3 separate regions of the Homo sapiens genome follow, and regions 1 and 3 are each linked to region 2. The links are contacts of gene promoters, found by promoter capture Hi-C in blood cells and fetal thymus (Javierre and others, 2016). All regions are on one chromosome and are shown on one strand. Each heading gives the region's core, a stretch centred on a gene start or on the middle of the fragment in contact. The rest is flanking DNA. Distances are from core to core; before and after follow the strand shown. Region 1 has its middle 26 kb from the start of OR10A7. Region 2 holds the start of OR6C68 (olfactory receptor family 6 subfamily C member 68). Region 3 has its middle 46 kb from the start of OR10A7.

Region 1 (4,551 bases), core at 1,468-3,967, 300 kb after region 2:
GGGAGGCTGAGGCAAGAGAATCACTTGAACCCTGGAGGCGGAGTTTACAGTGAGTCAAGATTGCGCCATTGCACTCCAGCCTGGGGGTCAGAGCGAGACTCCATCTCAAAAAAATAAATAAAAATAAATAAAAATAAAAAAGCTCATGGTTCTCCCATCTTAAAAACGTAGTGAATCACAATAAGTCATTGTGTCCTGTCCTTTCATTTTCTCCAGTTATTACCCTGTCTTCCTCCTGCCCTTCATGGCCAAATTTCTAGAATGTATTGCTCCTACTGGTTTTTTTCATTTTTAAAATTCTATTTCCTCAAAAACAACTTCACTCTGGTTCATGTTCTTACTTCTCTTTCCAAATTATTTTTTTCTGAAGTCATCAATAGCCTGTGTGGAGCTAAAAGTCAACAGATAATTAAAAGCTATTTTTTCACACCATCTCAGAAATATTTGGTGCAGTTGATCACTCCCTTCCTAAATACTCTCTTTTCTTGCCTTCAAAAATACCACATAGATAAGATGCACCCTTTCATCTCAAGTACTTTTTCCAGGACCATTGAAAAACTCCTGGACTCTAGGAGGATGTGCGATAGATAGCATGATGGAATCTGGAGTCTATATGTTGTTGTTATTATCAGTAGTGCATATACTAATCTGGCCATTATCTCACCAAACATTGTTTCCTCTTACCCACTTACTCAGGATAAAAGCAGATCTGAGGCAGCAGGAGAGGACTTTTTACTATTCTCACTTAAATACCCCACATCCAATCATGTATCCATATTTAAAAAAAATTCCTCTAATTTCAGAATCAGATTGAGAAATAAACACAACACAGAGTCCAGGTGGGAATTAATGTGGAGAAATTAGCAGCTGTTTTTGTTTTGTAAGTATTTTGTGGCAAAAACATATCAAAGAAATACAGCTATGTACTTACTCTTACTCCCAGACCCTGGTGGGGAGATTTGGCAAAATATCACTGATTATGCATGATGTGACCTTCTGCTGCAGTATTTCAGGGATGCTATACCATCAAATAGAATGCGTTTTCTTAAATATTAGGTTGGTGCAAAGTAATGGCAAAAACCCGCAATTAATTTTGCACCAACCTAAACATTCTCAATGTGGTATATTCATTCTGGCAGTACCTCCACACTGATGGAAGAGCACTCCCCAAAACACATGGCTTTCATCTCTGAGGCAGCATGAGTGGCACAAAAAAAGCATACATATTTTTTTAGGAGGGAGAGACAATGTCTAAAACTCCTGCCTTTTGGTTTGGCATGGGAATCGTGGGAGGCGAGAATAGCAGTCCCATCTAACGCATTAGTTTCAAAACTGATCGATCTTGTAACCTCTTTTACTTGCCTTACTCTATGTCCCAATGAATTTACCATATTGACCTGACAGTGAAAAGAAAATGTGTCCGGAATGGAGCAATGGGGATCATTCAGAATGAAAAATATTTTCATTTCTTGAAGACAGTAGAAGAAAAATACATTTTTTAATGTTTTTGACCAATTACTTTAATTAATTCCATTGGAAATTTGGGGTTTTCTTCCCGTGCCTATTTTTTTAATGCTGCTAGCAATTGAATAATAAATAATGAATAAAGTGAATGCTATTTTGGGGGTTTATGGAGGCTACTATGTTCCATGCACTGTGCCTACCAATATTACAAAGGCCTAATTAGTCACTGTCCATTTGAGGAGCTTAAAAAGGATTACTATGGCAAACATCCATAGAGTTTAATAATAATTTCAGTTGTATGATGGGTTCCAATTAGCAACTTTTAGTTTTATGCATTGGAACAGGTGATATAACTGACAGCAATAGGTATCTCTGGAAATGTCTTTAACAACTGAAAACCAACTTGCACATTAAACACTCATTGTTTTTAATATACTCCTCTTGAGACAAATATAATTAAGCTGCACAGTGGATGTATTCCCTATGGTCTCTAGTAGAAATAAAAATACTGCCTATTCTATCACTGTGCTATAATTTAGAGCCATAGGAAGTCTAGGAGCCCAAAAAGGAAAAGAAAGCTTACCTTGTGGTTCTAGGTATGTTCTCCTATTTGTAATTTCTTGCAAATTTACACTGAGGTTGTAGAAAGGAGATTCTGTCGATTTTGGCTTTCTTGGATCTTAGCTTTGTAATTATTTGCTTATTCTGTTCAGATCAAGTAAAATATGTACATAAATACATAGATAAACAGCTGGAAATATATTCCCTTTTAAGCCCTTAAGTGTAGCTTTAAGGAAGGTTATAGAATTTGGAAGACCAGAGTATAACACCTTTACATCTGAATCTATTAATTTTTATGTGACTCCTTTAAAATTATAAGTCTTCATATATTGCTTGCATAATAGCTTCTGTATATAATTAGTGATAAGACAAAAACAAAAGATTCAGAATATGCAACTTAAAAACCATTGTTTTTTCCAAATGTTTGTGAAAATTGCATATAATCCATAACTTAAAATCAGGAAGAAATATGTATTCGATGTAATTGTGTAGTTTAGAAAGATTTAACAGAAGAAATCCAGGTGTCTAGATTCTCATCTCAGACTACTGATTCTAGGAAAGCTCCTTTGCTGTGGTTCAGTAGAGAGATGTGTTAGGTGACTGCATTCCCATTAACCTGCCTTCTTTGTTGTCTGCACAGATGTTTAGCTCTGAGCCCACCATAGATGGAAATCAGTCCCTGTGTGCCAAATTCACATTTGTGGCTTTTTCTTCTATAGAAGAATTACAGCTTGTACTCTTCATTGTGTTCTTAATCATCACTTATGCACTATAGGAGGAAATATCATCATCATCTCCCTGATCTGGATCACCCCTGCCCTGCACACTCCAATGTATTTCTTCCTGGTGAACCTCTCATTTCTGGAGATGTGCTATACCACCAGTGTGGTGCCTCATGCTGGTGCACCTGCTGGTGGAGACCAAAACCATAAGTGTGGGTGGCTGTGCAACCCAGATGTACATATTTGCCATCTTGGGACTGACAGAATGCTGCTTGCTAGCAGCTATGGCTTACGATCGCTTTGTAGCTATTTGTTACCCACTGCATTACACTCTCTTCATGGGCCCTCGTGTTTGTTTGAAATTGGCTGCAGCATCTTGGTTCACTGGAGTGGTGGTGGAGTCAGCCCAGATCACCCTGATCTTCACTTTGCCTTTCTGTGGAACAGGAAAGATTCAACACTTTTTTGTGACATAATGCCTGTACTGAAACTGGCTTGTATTGATACCTCCCAAATTGAAATTGTGATGTTTTCTCTCTCCGTGCTATTTATTGTGAGTCCTTGTTTCCTCATTCTGTGCTCCCACATGCACATCCCTGTGACCATCTTGAGAATCCCTTCAGCAGCTGGAAGACACAAAGCTTTCTCCACTTGTTCTTCTCATATCTTGGTTGTTTCTCTGTTCTATGGCACTGCCTTGTTCACTTATCTGCAACCTAAGACTGCACACACTCCAGAAACAGACAAAGCAACTGCACTCATGTACACAATGGTCACACCTGCTTTGAATCCTGTTATCTATACCTTGAGGAACAAGGAAGTAAAGGAAGCCTTTCAAAGGATAACCCAAAGGAACTCTCTTAGACAAACGGCCTAAACCAGTCATAGTAGCTGAAACCTATGCTACTGTACAGAGAGGTTACCCGATTTTATGATTCTTCTACCAACATATTCTTTTATTAAAGCATTTATAGCCTAGCTACCAAAAAACATTTGGATTTGTCACACATTTTTCAATGTCTGTAAGTAAAAGGAAACTACACAGTAGATTCATTCAATTGTTAATCATTCATTCATTCAACAGTATTTACAGGGCATCTCATGTGTCAAGCTACCATTTTCTCCTTCTCCAGTGGTAATAGCATTAAGTCCAGTATGTTTCATGCCATTTTCCTGAGGAAAATGAAATATCCTTTATGAGTATAAAACAAAAAATGAAATAAACAGGAAGTAATACTATTTTAGTATCAAATATAGTCTATTAGAATTTAAGTTCTTAATTGGAGTATGCTCCTTTAATTAGTGTGCTCTCTGTACATCTTAAGGTCATACATATTAAATAACCAACTGTTAATAAATACTAATGAGTGGTGTACACCATGAAAGAACTTTAAATATTTAGTTTGTAAATCCAGTGAGAGACCTGAATTCTTTATCTGAAACATGAGTTTTCCTTTGCTCTTATCCACCTGTTTTTTGTTGGTTTGTTTATTTGTTTTTCATGTGAGTAAAGACTTAGGGAAATGTCTGCCTTTGAGACATACAATCTTATTACACCTATTGTAAACCCTGTTTAAATGTATTGATTTAAATATAATTTTCTTTTGTCACGGTGTATATATTCTAGCTAATATATATTGTTTTTGTCTCTTTGAATAATAAAAAGCAAGTCTTCTATAAGACACTAAAACAAAGAACTTTAAAAAACTGTTGGTTTCTTATGGCAACTTTAGAGAAGTTGACAAAAATGTAAATGTTCAGAGACATTTTGTCAACCTGAAAGTTTTTTGATTTTATCTTAGTG
Region 2 (4,551 bases), core at 1,926-4,425:
ACTCTGATTGGCCTGATTTAGATCACAACCCTGAATTAAAAACACTGTGGATTGGTTAATAGAATGCAATAATTAACTTTTGGGGGGTTTTGAGGTTCTCCACTGAAATTAGGAATGGAAACAACTTTCCTGAAACATTCAATTTGATTAAGTTGTTCACTGGGTGTTTTACCTTCAACCCCAAAGATTAATGTAGGCTGAGAAACAAAGCAAGAGGCATTTGTCAAATATTACCAATAGAAACAAATGACATGGGCTTAGAGAACAGGTGAATATTCTTGAATTTTATGTCACTCACTATTATCCCAAGATGAATGGTGTCAACTGTACAGTGTGTTTTTACATTTCATTTCTATTTACACAGAATAATTTATTCACATATTCAAACTTTCATACGGGCAATCATTCATTCATTCATTTATCAAATATGTTCTGTGCATTGTGCAGCAAGATTATTGTATTTGGTGCTCGTGGTGTGGGAAAGGGATGACTAAAACATGTATTATCTATCTTTATGCATTTATGATCAACATAGGATTTTATTTTTCCTAAATGGCATAATGATGTATGTATTATCTTGCAAATAGTTTAAAATTTTTTTTTTGTTTTTTTTGAGTTGCAGTCTCGCTCTGTCGCCCAGGCTGGAGTGCAGTGGCATCATCTCAGCTCACTGCAAGCTCTGCCTCCTGGGTTCATGCCATTCTCCTGCCTCAGCCTCCCTAGTAGCTGGGACTACAGGTGCCCACCACCTCGCCCAGCTAATTTTTTGTATTTTTAGTAGAGACGGGGTTTCACCGTGTTAGCCAGGATGGTCTTGATCTCCTGACCTCGTGATCGGCCCGCCTCGGCCTCCCAAAGTGCTGGGATTATAGGCGTGAGCCACCGCGCCCAGCCAGTTTTTAAAAATTTTAATATCCTTCCATTATAAGATCAAGTTCTATATCATTTGATAAGTACTACATCTTATGCTGTAATTCCCTAATTGACTTACACATTGCCAAGTGATGTTCATTTGGTTATTTTCAATCTTTTACTATTACAAAATGACTGCAATGAGTATAATAATTGGCAAGTAGATTCTGGCATAAATCCCTAGATGTTGATTTCTAGATGAAATCTTATATGTACTGTTAGTAAATATAAATTCCAATGTTTTCAAGTAAATTGTGCATTGAGGTGTATGTTTTACTTTAAGTGTTAGCATACTGGCTAATATTGAACATACGAAAAATTTAGTTTGTGCAAATATGATGGGTGAAATGTATATCATGACTTTAATGTTTAAATCTGTGGCTAATAATGAAGTTGTGCATCCCTTCCTATTGCTATAGGTAATTTTATTTTTTAGTAAAATAAATATCTAATATTTTCTTGGTATTTATAGTAAATTTGTTGCCTTTTTTGATTCATAGAAACTTCCTACATATTTATTATATTAAGCCTTTCATGTTAACTGTACCATAAAGCTATTCTTTTACTTATGTTTTCTCTTTAATATTTTTCATGAAATTTTCTCTTTTTGCTGTAGATATTTTAAAGTTTGTTACTTAAATCTGACTTTTTTTCAGTGAGGCAAGGAATTTGTATCTTGATTAAGAGTGAATTCTCATAGACCAGGTGCAGTGGCTCACGCCTGTAATCCCAGCACCTTTGGGAGGCCGAGGTGGGTGGATCACTTGAGACCAGGAGTTTGAGATTAGCCTGGCCAACATGGTGCAACCCTGTCTATACTAAAAATACAAAAATTAGGTGGGCGTGGTGGCGCATGCTCTTAGTTCCAGTTACTTGGGAGGCTGAATCATGAGAATTGCTTGAACCTGGAAGTTGGAGGTTGCAGTGAGCCAAGATGGCACCATCGCACTCCAGCCTGGACAACAGAGTGGGAATCTATCTCCAGGGGAGAAAAAAAAAAAAAAAAAAAGAATGACTACTCATAGAAGTTGGGAAAAAAATAACTTCACACCCATATTTTAAAATTATCAGAGAAAATCAACTGGAAAGAAGGAAAAAAGAGTGGTTTAATCTGGTTAAGGATTAAAAGTGATATATTTTGTCTATCATAGAATATTATTCAATAATTAATTTCTCAGTACGTAAATTAATAAAAAATTAATGATTAAATGGCTATGCAGTCAACTTGATTGCTCTATAGACTAAGAAATTACAAAGTTGGTTATTGGCTTTATGAAAAATATGAAGCAGATCTTTTATATTGATTTATCAACTTAGGTACACTTTACTTTTTTAAACGAAATGCAATTTTTTTGAGTGAGTCATGAAAGGCTTGTTTAACTTGCTCATTCCTAAGAGTATATATGAAAGAATTCAACATAGGTGATATGGATGAAATAAGCACTGACACACCTTTATTAATGTTTACCTCTTCTTTTGCAGATGGCTTGATATAGATGAAGATGCAGCTGCCATAAGTGATGGAAACCACAGTAATATGTGAAGAACAGGTAGAAAAGGCTTTTTTCTTTTGTTGAACAGAAGGGAATTTTAGAATTGTTCTTATGATATATGTGTAGGACAGAACTACACATACAAGAGTGATAATAAAGGTTAATACAGCAGAGGCTACAACCATCTGCTCAATTAATGATGTGTCTGAGCATGGTATTTTCAGAATAGGCAATGCATCACAGCCAAAATGATTGATGACATTAGAGTCACAGAATTCTAGATGAAAACCTAAGCTAAGTGGTGGGAGGATAATCATAAGTGCTGCCATCCAACAACAAATAACCATTGTTTTGCACACTTTGTTGCTCATGATTGCCATATAATGCAAGGGTTTGCAGATGGCCACATAGCGATCATATGACATGGTAGCCAAAAGAAAAAATTCAGTTACCCCAAAGAGGTCTGCAAAAAATAGCTGAATGACACATGCATTATACGTTATTATTTTGTTCCCAGTTGAGATACTGTATAAGAATCTTGGAACACAGGTAGCTGTAAATGAGATTTCTAAGAAAGATAAATTTTGGAGAAAAAAATACATGGGTGTTTTCAGGTGGGGATCCAACATGGTGAGGGCGATAATGGTCAGTTTCCCTGTTACACTCAACATGTAGGTGATAAATAGAAACATGAAAAGCAGAACCTGCAGCTGAGGATCTTCTGTCAGTCCCAGAAGGATGAATGTTGTTATTGCTGTGTGTTTTCTCATTACTGACTTCTGCATTTTTCCAAAACTACATGTAAATGTCAGAGAAATTTGAACTGCAGCATTCAATAAAAAAAGCAGCTAATGATGAACACTCTCATGCATGTTTCATTTATCCAACATCATAGGTTTTACTTGTTGATCTGCAGAAGTTTATAGTGAGAATATAAATAACATATATGTACATGTTTTAGTACGTTGAGCTCCCTTGATCTATTTATACAAAATGGCCAAATAAGATTATTTTATAAATTTTAGTCAACGAACTATAGAATAACTTTTCTTTATTAATCTTCTATAGTAATTAATTTATAGTGTATTAAACATTTTAACTCATTCTGAGTTGTGCCTTTTTATTGGATTGCATTATTTTTTGAAATATGACTGTTTTTTATGCTGCCAAATGTTTTTCTGCAACTCATAAGCTACATTAAAATAATTCGCTTTAGTTTCATCTCTGTTTTAAAATTTGGGAATTGTAAAACCCTAAAATAAAACATACATCAGGTTCCAAACAAAACATTTCAATTCCCTCTAAGATGTATATTTATTTGCTTTTTGACTGCTTTTTAATTGTTGGTTATTCATTTTAAGAGAAAACCATCTTTTGACCCTAAGGCATCCACGTTTATAATTTTACATATCTCTTCTAAGCTTCATTATCTAAATCTTATATCTACTCCCTGGATAGTGCTGTGTAGTATAATATGATTATTTTTCAGTGCCCTTTTATCACAGTGCAAGACAGTTTTGATTATAATAAATGAACTGCTGAAAAATATAAAAACTATGTCTTCCTGCGTTCAGTTAGCTACTCAGATTAGAACAAGTTATACAACATGGATAAAAGTCAAGACAAAAATTGCTGAATATCCTCGCCATGACACAATATTCTCTCCTTTTTCATTTCCTTCAGATCTACATTCTTTGACTCTATTTCCACAGTACGCATTCGTTTCTCAATCTGTTACTCTCTTATTTTTCACCTCACCAGATTTTTAAAAGTGCTTAATCAGTTAACTTCCTGTGACTTAACCCAGTATAATCATAATATGACAAACACAAATCTCTTGCTATGCTTCAGGCAAATCTCTTGCTATGCTTCTCTTTTAAGTATATTACATATATAATTAATATAATCCTTAGGACAACCTGTGAAGTAGGGAGGTATATTATCTCCACTTAAAAAATGAAAAAGCTGATCGACAAAGAGGTAAAGTATGTGGCCATTGTTTCAGGATAGTAAGTGGCTAGAGAAACCCCAGAGTCCCAGTTCTTTAATCACTGCGCTGTGTTTGTGGTGAACACTTTACCTGAATGTTTTAATTTCATGAAGATAATATTCTGTCTATTGGTAATTGAAACAAAGCTGGGGTTAC
Region 3 (4,674 bases), core at 2,094-4,593, 320 kb after region 2:
ACCATTGAAAGACAAAGCCAAAGAAGAATTTTGAAATCAACAAGAGAAAAGGGGCTAGTCACTTAAAAGTTATACTTAATAAGATTATAAGACTTTTTATCAGAATCTTTGGAAGTCAGAAAATGGTGGGTTGATATATTAAAAGTGCTAAAAGATTTTTTTAAACTATTGTCAATCAAGAATCATATATCTGGTAAAATTATCTTTCAAAAATGAGAGCAAAATAAATATATTTCCAGACAATAAAAATCAACGAAGTTTGTAACCGCTAGACCTGCCCCTGCAAGAAATGCTAAAGTGCTGAAATAAAAGACACTTGAGAGTAATTCAGAGCCATATAAAAAGGTAAAAATCTCAGTAAAAGTAAATACATAGGAAATTATAAAAGCTAGTATTATTGTAACAATGATGTGTAACTCCACTTTTTGTTTTCTACATGATTCAAGAGAATAATATATTAGAAAAATGTTTAAGAGGTCGATGCATTAGAAAATCATTAGTTTATTTTTTGGAAACACGATGTATAAAAATGTAATTTTATGTCAGCAACTGAAAGGTGTGGAGATGGATCTGTTAAAGAAGCTGAGCTTTTGTATGTTATTGAATTTGTGTGTTATTGAAGCTGGTATAAATTTAAATCAGCTGGTATAAATATTAAAAGTTTAGAATATTAGAGGTAATTCCCATGGTAACCACAAAAATATAACTAAAGAATATACATGAAAAAGTTAAATGGGAAAGGGATGTAAATGTTTCAGTAGAAAAAAAAAAAAGGCTAAACACCAAAAAAAAGTACTGCAGGAAAAATAGGATTTTTAAAAACTATAAGGCATATAGAAATAATAAAGTAACAGAAATAAGCCCATTCTTACTTTAAATGTACATGATTAAACTCTCCAATCAAAAAAATAGATACTGACGGAATGGAAGAAAAAAACAAAAAAAGATTCAATTTTTCTGAAACAAAAGTGGTTTGCTGCTTGATGCACTAAAAGCCAATACTATGACACCAGGTTTTTGAGAAAAGAAAAGCTTTTTATTGCCAAGTTGACTCATAAGGAGACAGGAGTTGAGCTCAAGTCTTCCTCCCTGTGCTGGCTTTAAGGCAGTAATCTCATTAGAAAAGGTTTAGGGTGTTAATTCTGAAATTAGCAGGTGATTGATGAAAGGAAAGAGGAGGTCTGGAAAGTCCTTTGGTATGTGCAGTTATCTCTTCATACTACCTCATGCATTGCATATGCAAATTCAGGGGGAGTTAGTATAAAACATGCAGCGGAAATTAAGGCTGTGGTGACATCAGCAAGCTCATTATGTGCAAACTCTAGTTGGCCACTGATATGGTTTTGCTGTGTCCCTACCCAAATCTCATCTCGAATTGTAGCTCCCATAATTCCCATATGTTGCGGGAGGGACCCGGTGGGAGATAATTGAATTGTGGGGGTGGTTCTCCCATACTGTTCTTGTGGTAGTGAATAAGTCTCATGAGATCTGATGGTTTTATAATGGAGAAACCACTTTTGCTTGCTTGTGCCTTTCACCTTCCACCGTGACTGTGATGCCGCCCCAGCCATGTGGAACTGTGAGACTGAGAATGTGAGTCCATCAAACCTCTTTTTCTTTATAAATTACCCCATCTCAAGTACGTTTTTATGAGCAGCATGAAAATGGACTAATACAGCCGTCTTGGTTCCAACTGACTTCAGCAAATTTTTTCTTTATCTTACAGCGGAGAGAGTTTCAGCATTTCATCAAGTTGTTTATTTTCTTGTCTGCTATCCTGAAAACTCAATAATTTCTATTAATTACTAGTTTCTTACTTTCGGGGCACAGTTTTAGTAAGTTGTTTCTCTTCTTATCTGCCATGCAGTAAGCCCAAGAATTTATTAATTTTTTTAACCCCTTGAAGCATGGTTCACAACTATATACTTTCCTACAAGGAACTCACTTTAGATCTAAAGAGAGAAATAGATTAAAAGTGAAATGATAGAAAAGTAATTAAAAGAAGGCAGGAGTGGCTCCACTAACATCAGAAAAATAGACTTTAAATTTTTAAAAATAACAAGAAAAAAGGAGGACATATCAATAAAAGTTTTAATACCACAAGAAGATAAAACAATTATAAACATTCACACACTTAATCACAGACCATTAAAATATGTGAAGCAAAAATTGTCAAATGAGGGAGGAGTCCTGGGACATCTCACATATGTTCAGAATATGGAATTTAGTCGCATAGTTTTGGTATAAAACCACTCATCTTCTGTACATTATGTCTCCAAGTCTAGAAACCCTCCGCTTTACACTTTCTGGGAAGTAAACCTCAAATCTGCGGTATGGGAGAAGCATCCAGCATCAAGGAGTGGAGGAAGGATCCACACAGAAATAGCATATTTACAAGGATTGTTCTTGAAAATTATGAGGATCATAAATCACAAAATCAATGCAACCTGAATAAGCTATAAGTTTATTTCTCTTTCAAAAAATTGGAGTATTAAGGAAAAAGGGTGGAGATTATACAATGGCTCTATATTCATCAACCTGCCCCTTCTAGTGTGTTACTTCACACCCTTCAACAGGGGGATACTATCTTGTGATTAATTGCAAATATCACTCTGATATTTGCCAGCTCATCCTTACAAAGAGATAGAATTTACATATACTTCTCCATATTTTGAATCTAGTGTAGCCTTGAGAATTACATTGATTTCTTATAATGTGGTAACATTAATGTTTCCTCTTTTTATATTTGCAGATTTGATTTTCTGAAATTTTATTAAGAATTGTTGTAGCTATATTCATGAGAGATGGATATGTTTTCAAAGTAATGTTGGCCTCATGATGAGTTTAGATATGTTATTTCTAACATATCTCTGGGAGTGTTATATGGTATTTCTAATATAACTCTGGGAGAGTTAGAGTATAACTGGATTCTTCTAAAAATACACCACTGAATAGATTCAAAACATTAAATATTTAGTAATAAATCTGACTAATGTGTAAGCTTTGTACAGTTAAAAAAAAAGTCAGCAAAATAAAAAGACAAGCCACAGGCTGAAAGGAAATTTCTGCAAAGTCATATCTGATAAAGGACTGTTACCAAAATATACAAACAACTCTTAAAACTCAACAATATGAAAGCAAATAACTTAATATTAAAAATAGGCCACATAGCTTAACAGACACACAAAAAATAGCCAAATGTCAAATAAGCATATGAAAAGATGTTCTGCATCAAATGTCATCAGGGCAATGCAAACTAAAATAACACGATACTACCACACATCTATTAGAATGGCCAAAATCCAGAGCACTGGCAATGCAAAATACTGGTGAGGATATAGGGCAACAAGCATGTTCATTTAATTTTTATGGAAATGCAAAATGGCACGGCCACTTTGAAAGACAGGTTAGCCTTGTCTTACAAAACTAAATTCACTATTACAATATGACCCAGCCATCACACTGTGTAGTATTCACCCAAAAGAGTTGAAAACTTATATCCACGAAAAAACCTATGCCCTGATATCTGTAACACCTTTTTCATAATTACCAAAACAGAAGCAATCAAGATGCTCTTCAGTAGGTGAATGGATAAAGAAAGTGTAGCACATTTAGACAATAGAATATTATTCAACACTATACCCCAGATTGAGTTTTCTTTCCTAGGGCTTCGACTCAAAGCTTGGAATTGAGTTTGGGACAAAAGAACTGCTTCGGCGGGTTGTGTGGACACTTTACAAGCCAAATGCTAAGGTGAAGCTGTGGAACTGAGTCCTCCTCCAACAAGAGAGAGAAAAGGGTGTCTTGTGTACTGAGTCCTGGCCTAGTATAATGTCTTCTCAAAGGAAAAAAGGCCTCTGGCATAGAGAAGTCCCTTCTACTTGCAGGAGCGTGTTATTAGGTTGGTGCAAAAGCATTCATGGTCCCCATCATGCTAAGTAATGTCAAATAACACAACTACTTTTGCACCAACCCACCAACTCCTGACCTGGTGGAGAAAAGAAAAAATACAGCTTAAAGTGCAGGGATGTGTTAAGTGCTGATGGGGTGAAGAAAAGAAAATAAAACATCTTAAGTACAGAGTTGGAAAGATGCCTGGGGGAAGAATCTCCTATTCTTATGCAAATGTGTTCCTCCAACAGGGAGAGAAATTTTACTTGCTGTTGGACTGGAGAGAAACTTTTCGATGCTGCTGGGAATGCTGGCCAGCGTGCTGTGTGGAGCCCTTGGGCCAGGTGCCCCAGCCCCAGCTGGGTGGAGGTGGGCAGGGAGTCACCACTCACCTATCTGTCTTGCATGCATGCCTGTGACCATTGGGGTGGTGGTGGAACACCCCCAATATTGTAAAAGAAAAGATAGGTGCCATTACAATCCCCCCCAAAAGAAGGAAAATGCCATAGAAAAGACTGGGTTGGACTGAGGTTGACATTCGCAATCCCCAAGGCAACGGAAGTGGAGGGTCACAGTTTTCTCTACCTTCAGAAGATGTCTGAGGGCAAGAAAAAGCTGAGAAACAAAAGGGAAAGAGGTTTTGTGGGGGATTCTGCATTTGATTCACCCTTCCTCATGTCCCCATACAGGCCACCAAAATGATGTGGGATATTTTGCTCCTTAGTTTAGCTAAAATCCACGTTCTTGCCTCACAACCAGGAAAAATTAGGCACATGGACACTT

Evidence for each region. The method cuts DNA at HindIII sites, captures the fragments that hold promoters and counts their contacts. A CHiCAGO score of 5 or more calls a contact.
Region 1: a fragment that was not itself captured here is called in contact with the fragment with the promoter of OR6C68 in region 2 in 4 of 17 cell types (monocytes, naive B cells, total B cells and 1 more); the score reaches 5.7 in monocytes.
Region 3: a contact is called between a fragment that was not itself captured here and the fragment with the promoter of OR6C68 in region 2, in 1 of 17 cell types (M1 macrophages). The highest score is 5.7, in M1 macrophages.

Annotation. Positions count from the first base shown.
Region 1 is chr12:55,192,931-55,197,481 of GRCh38, reverse strand. It overlaps the pseudogene OR10U1P. Among named protein-coding and RNA genes, the nearest start is that of OR10A7, 26 kb to the left of the region's middle. The HindIII fragment of the contact is 1,346 bases long and covers 2,045-3,390 here.
Region 2 is chr12:55,491,002-55,495,552 of GRCh38, reverse strand. OR6C68 (olfactory receptor family 6 subfamily C member 68) reads right to left here and starts at 3,175. Exons shown (of 1, transcript NM_001005519.2): 1 at 2,237-3,175. The coding sequence starts at 3,175. The coding sequence ends at 2,237. The HindIII fragment of the contact is 4,433 bases long and covers 1-3,828 here.
Region 3 is chr12:55,173,077-55,177,750 of GRCh38, reverse strand. No RefSeq gene overlaps it. Among named protein-coding and RNA genes, the nearest start is that of OR10A7, 46 kb to the left of the region's middle. RefSeq lists enhancers at 4,511-4,674, 4,391-4,674. The HindIII fragment of the contact is 680 bases long and covers 3,004-3,683 here.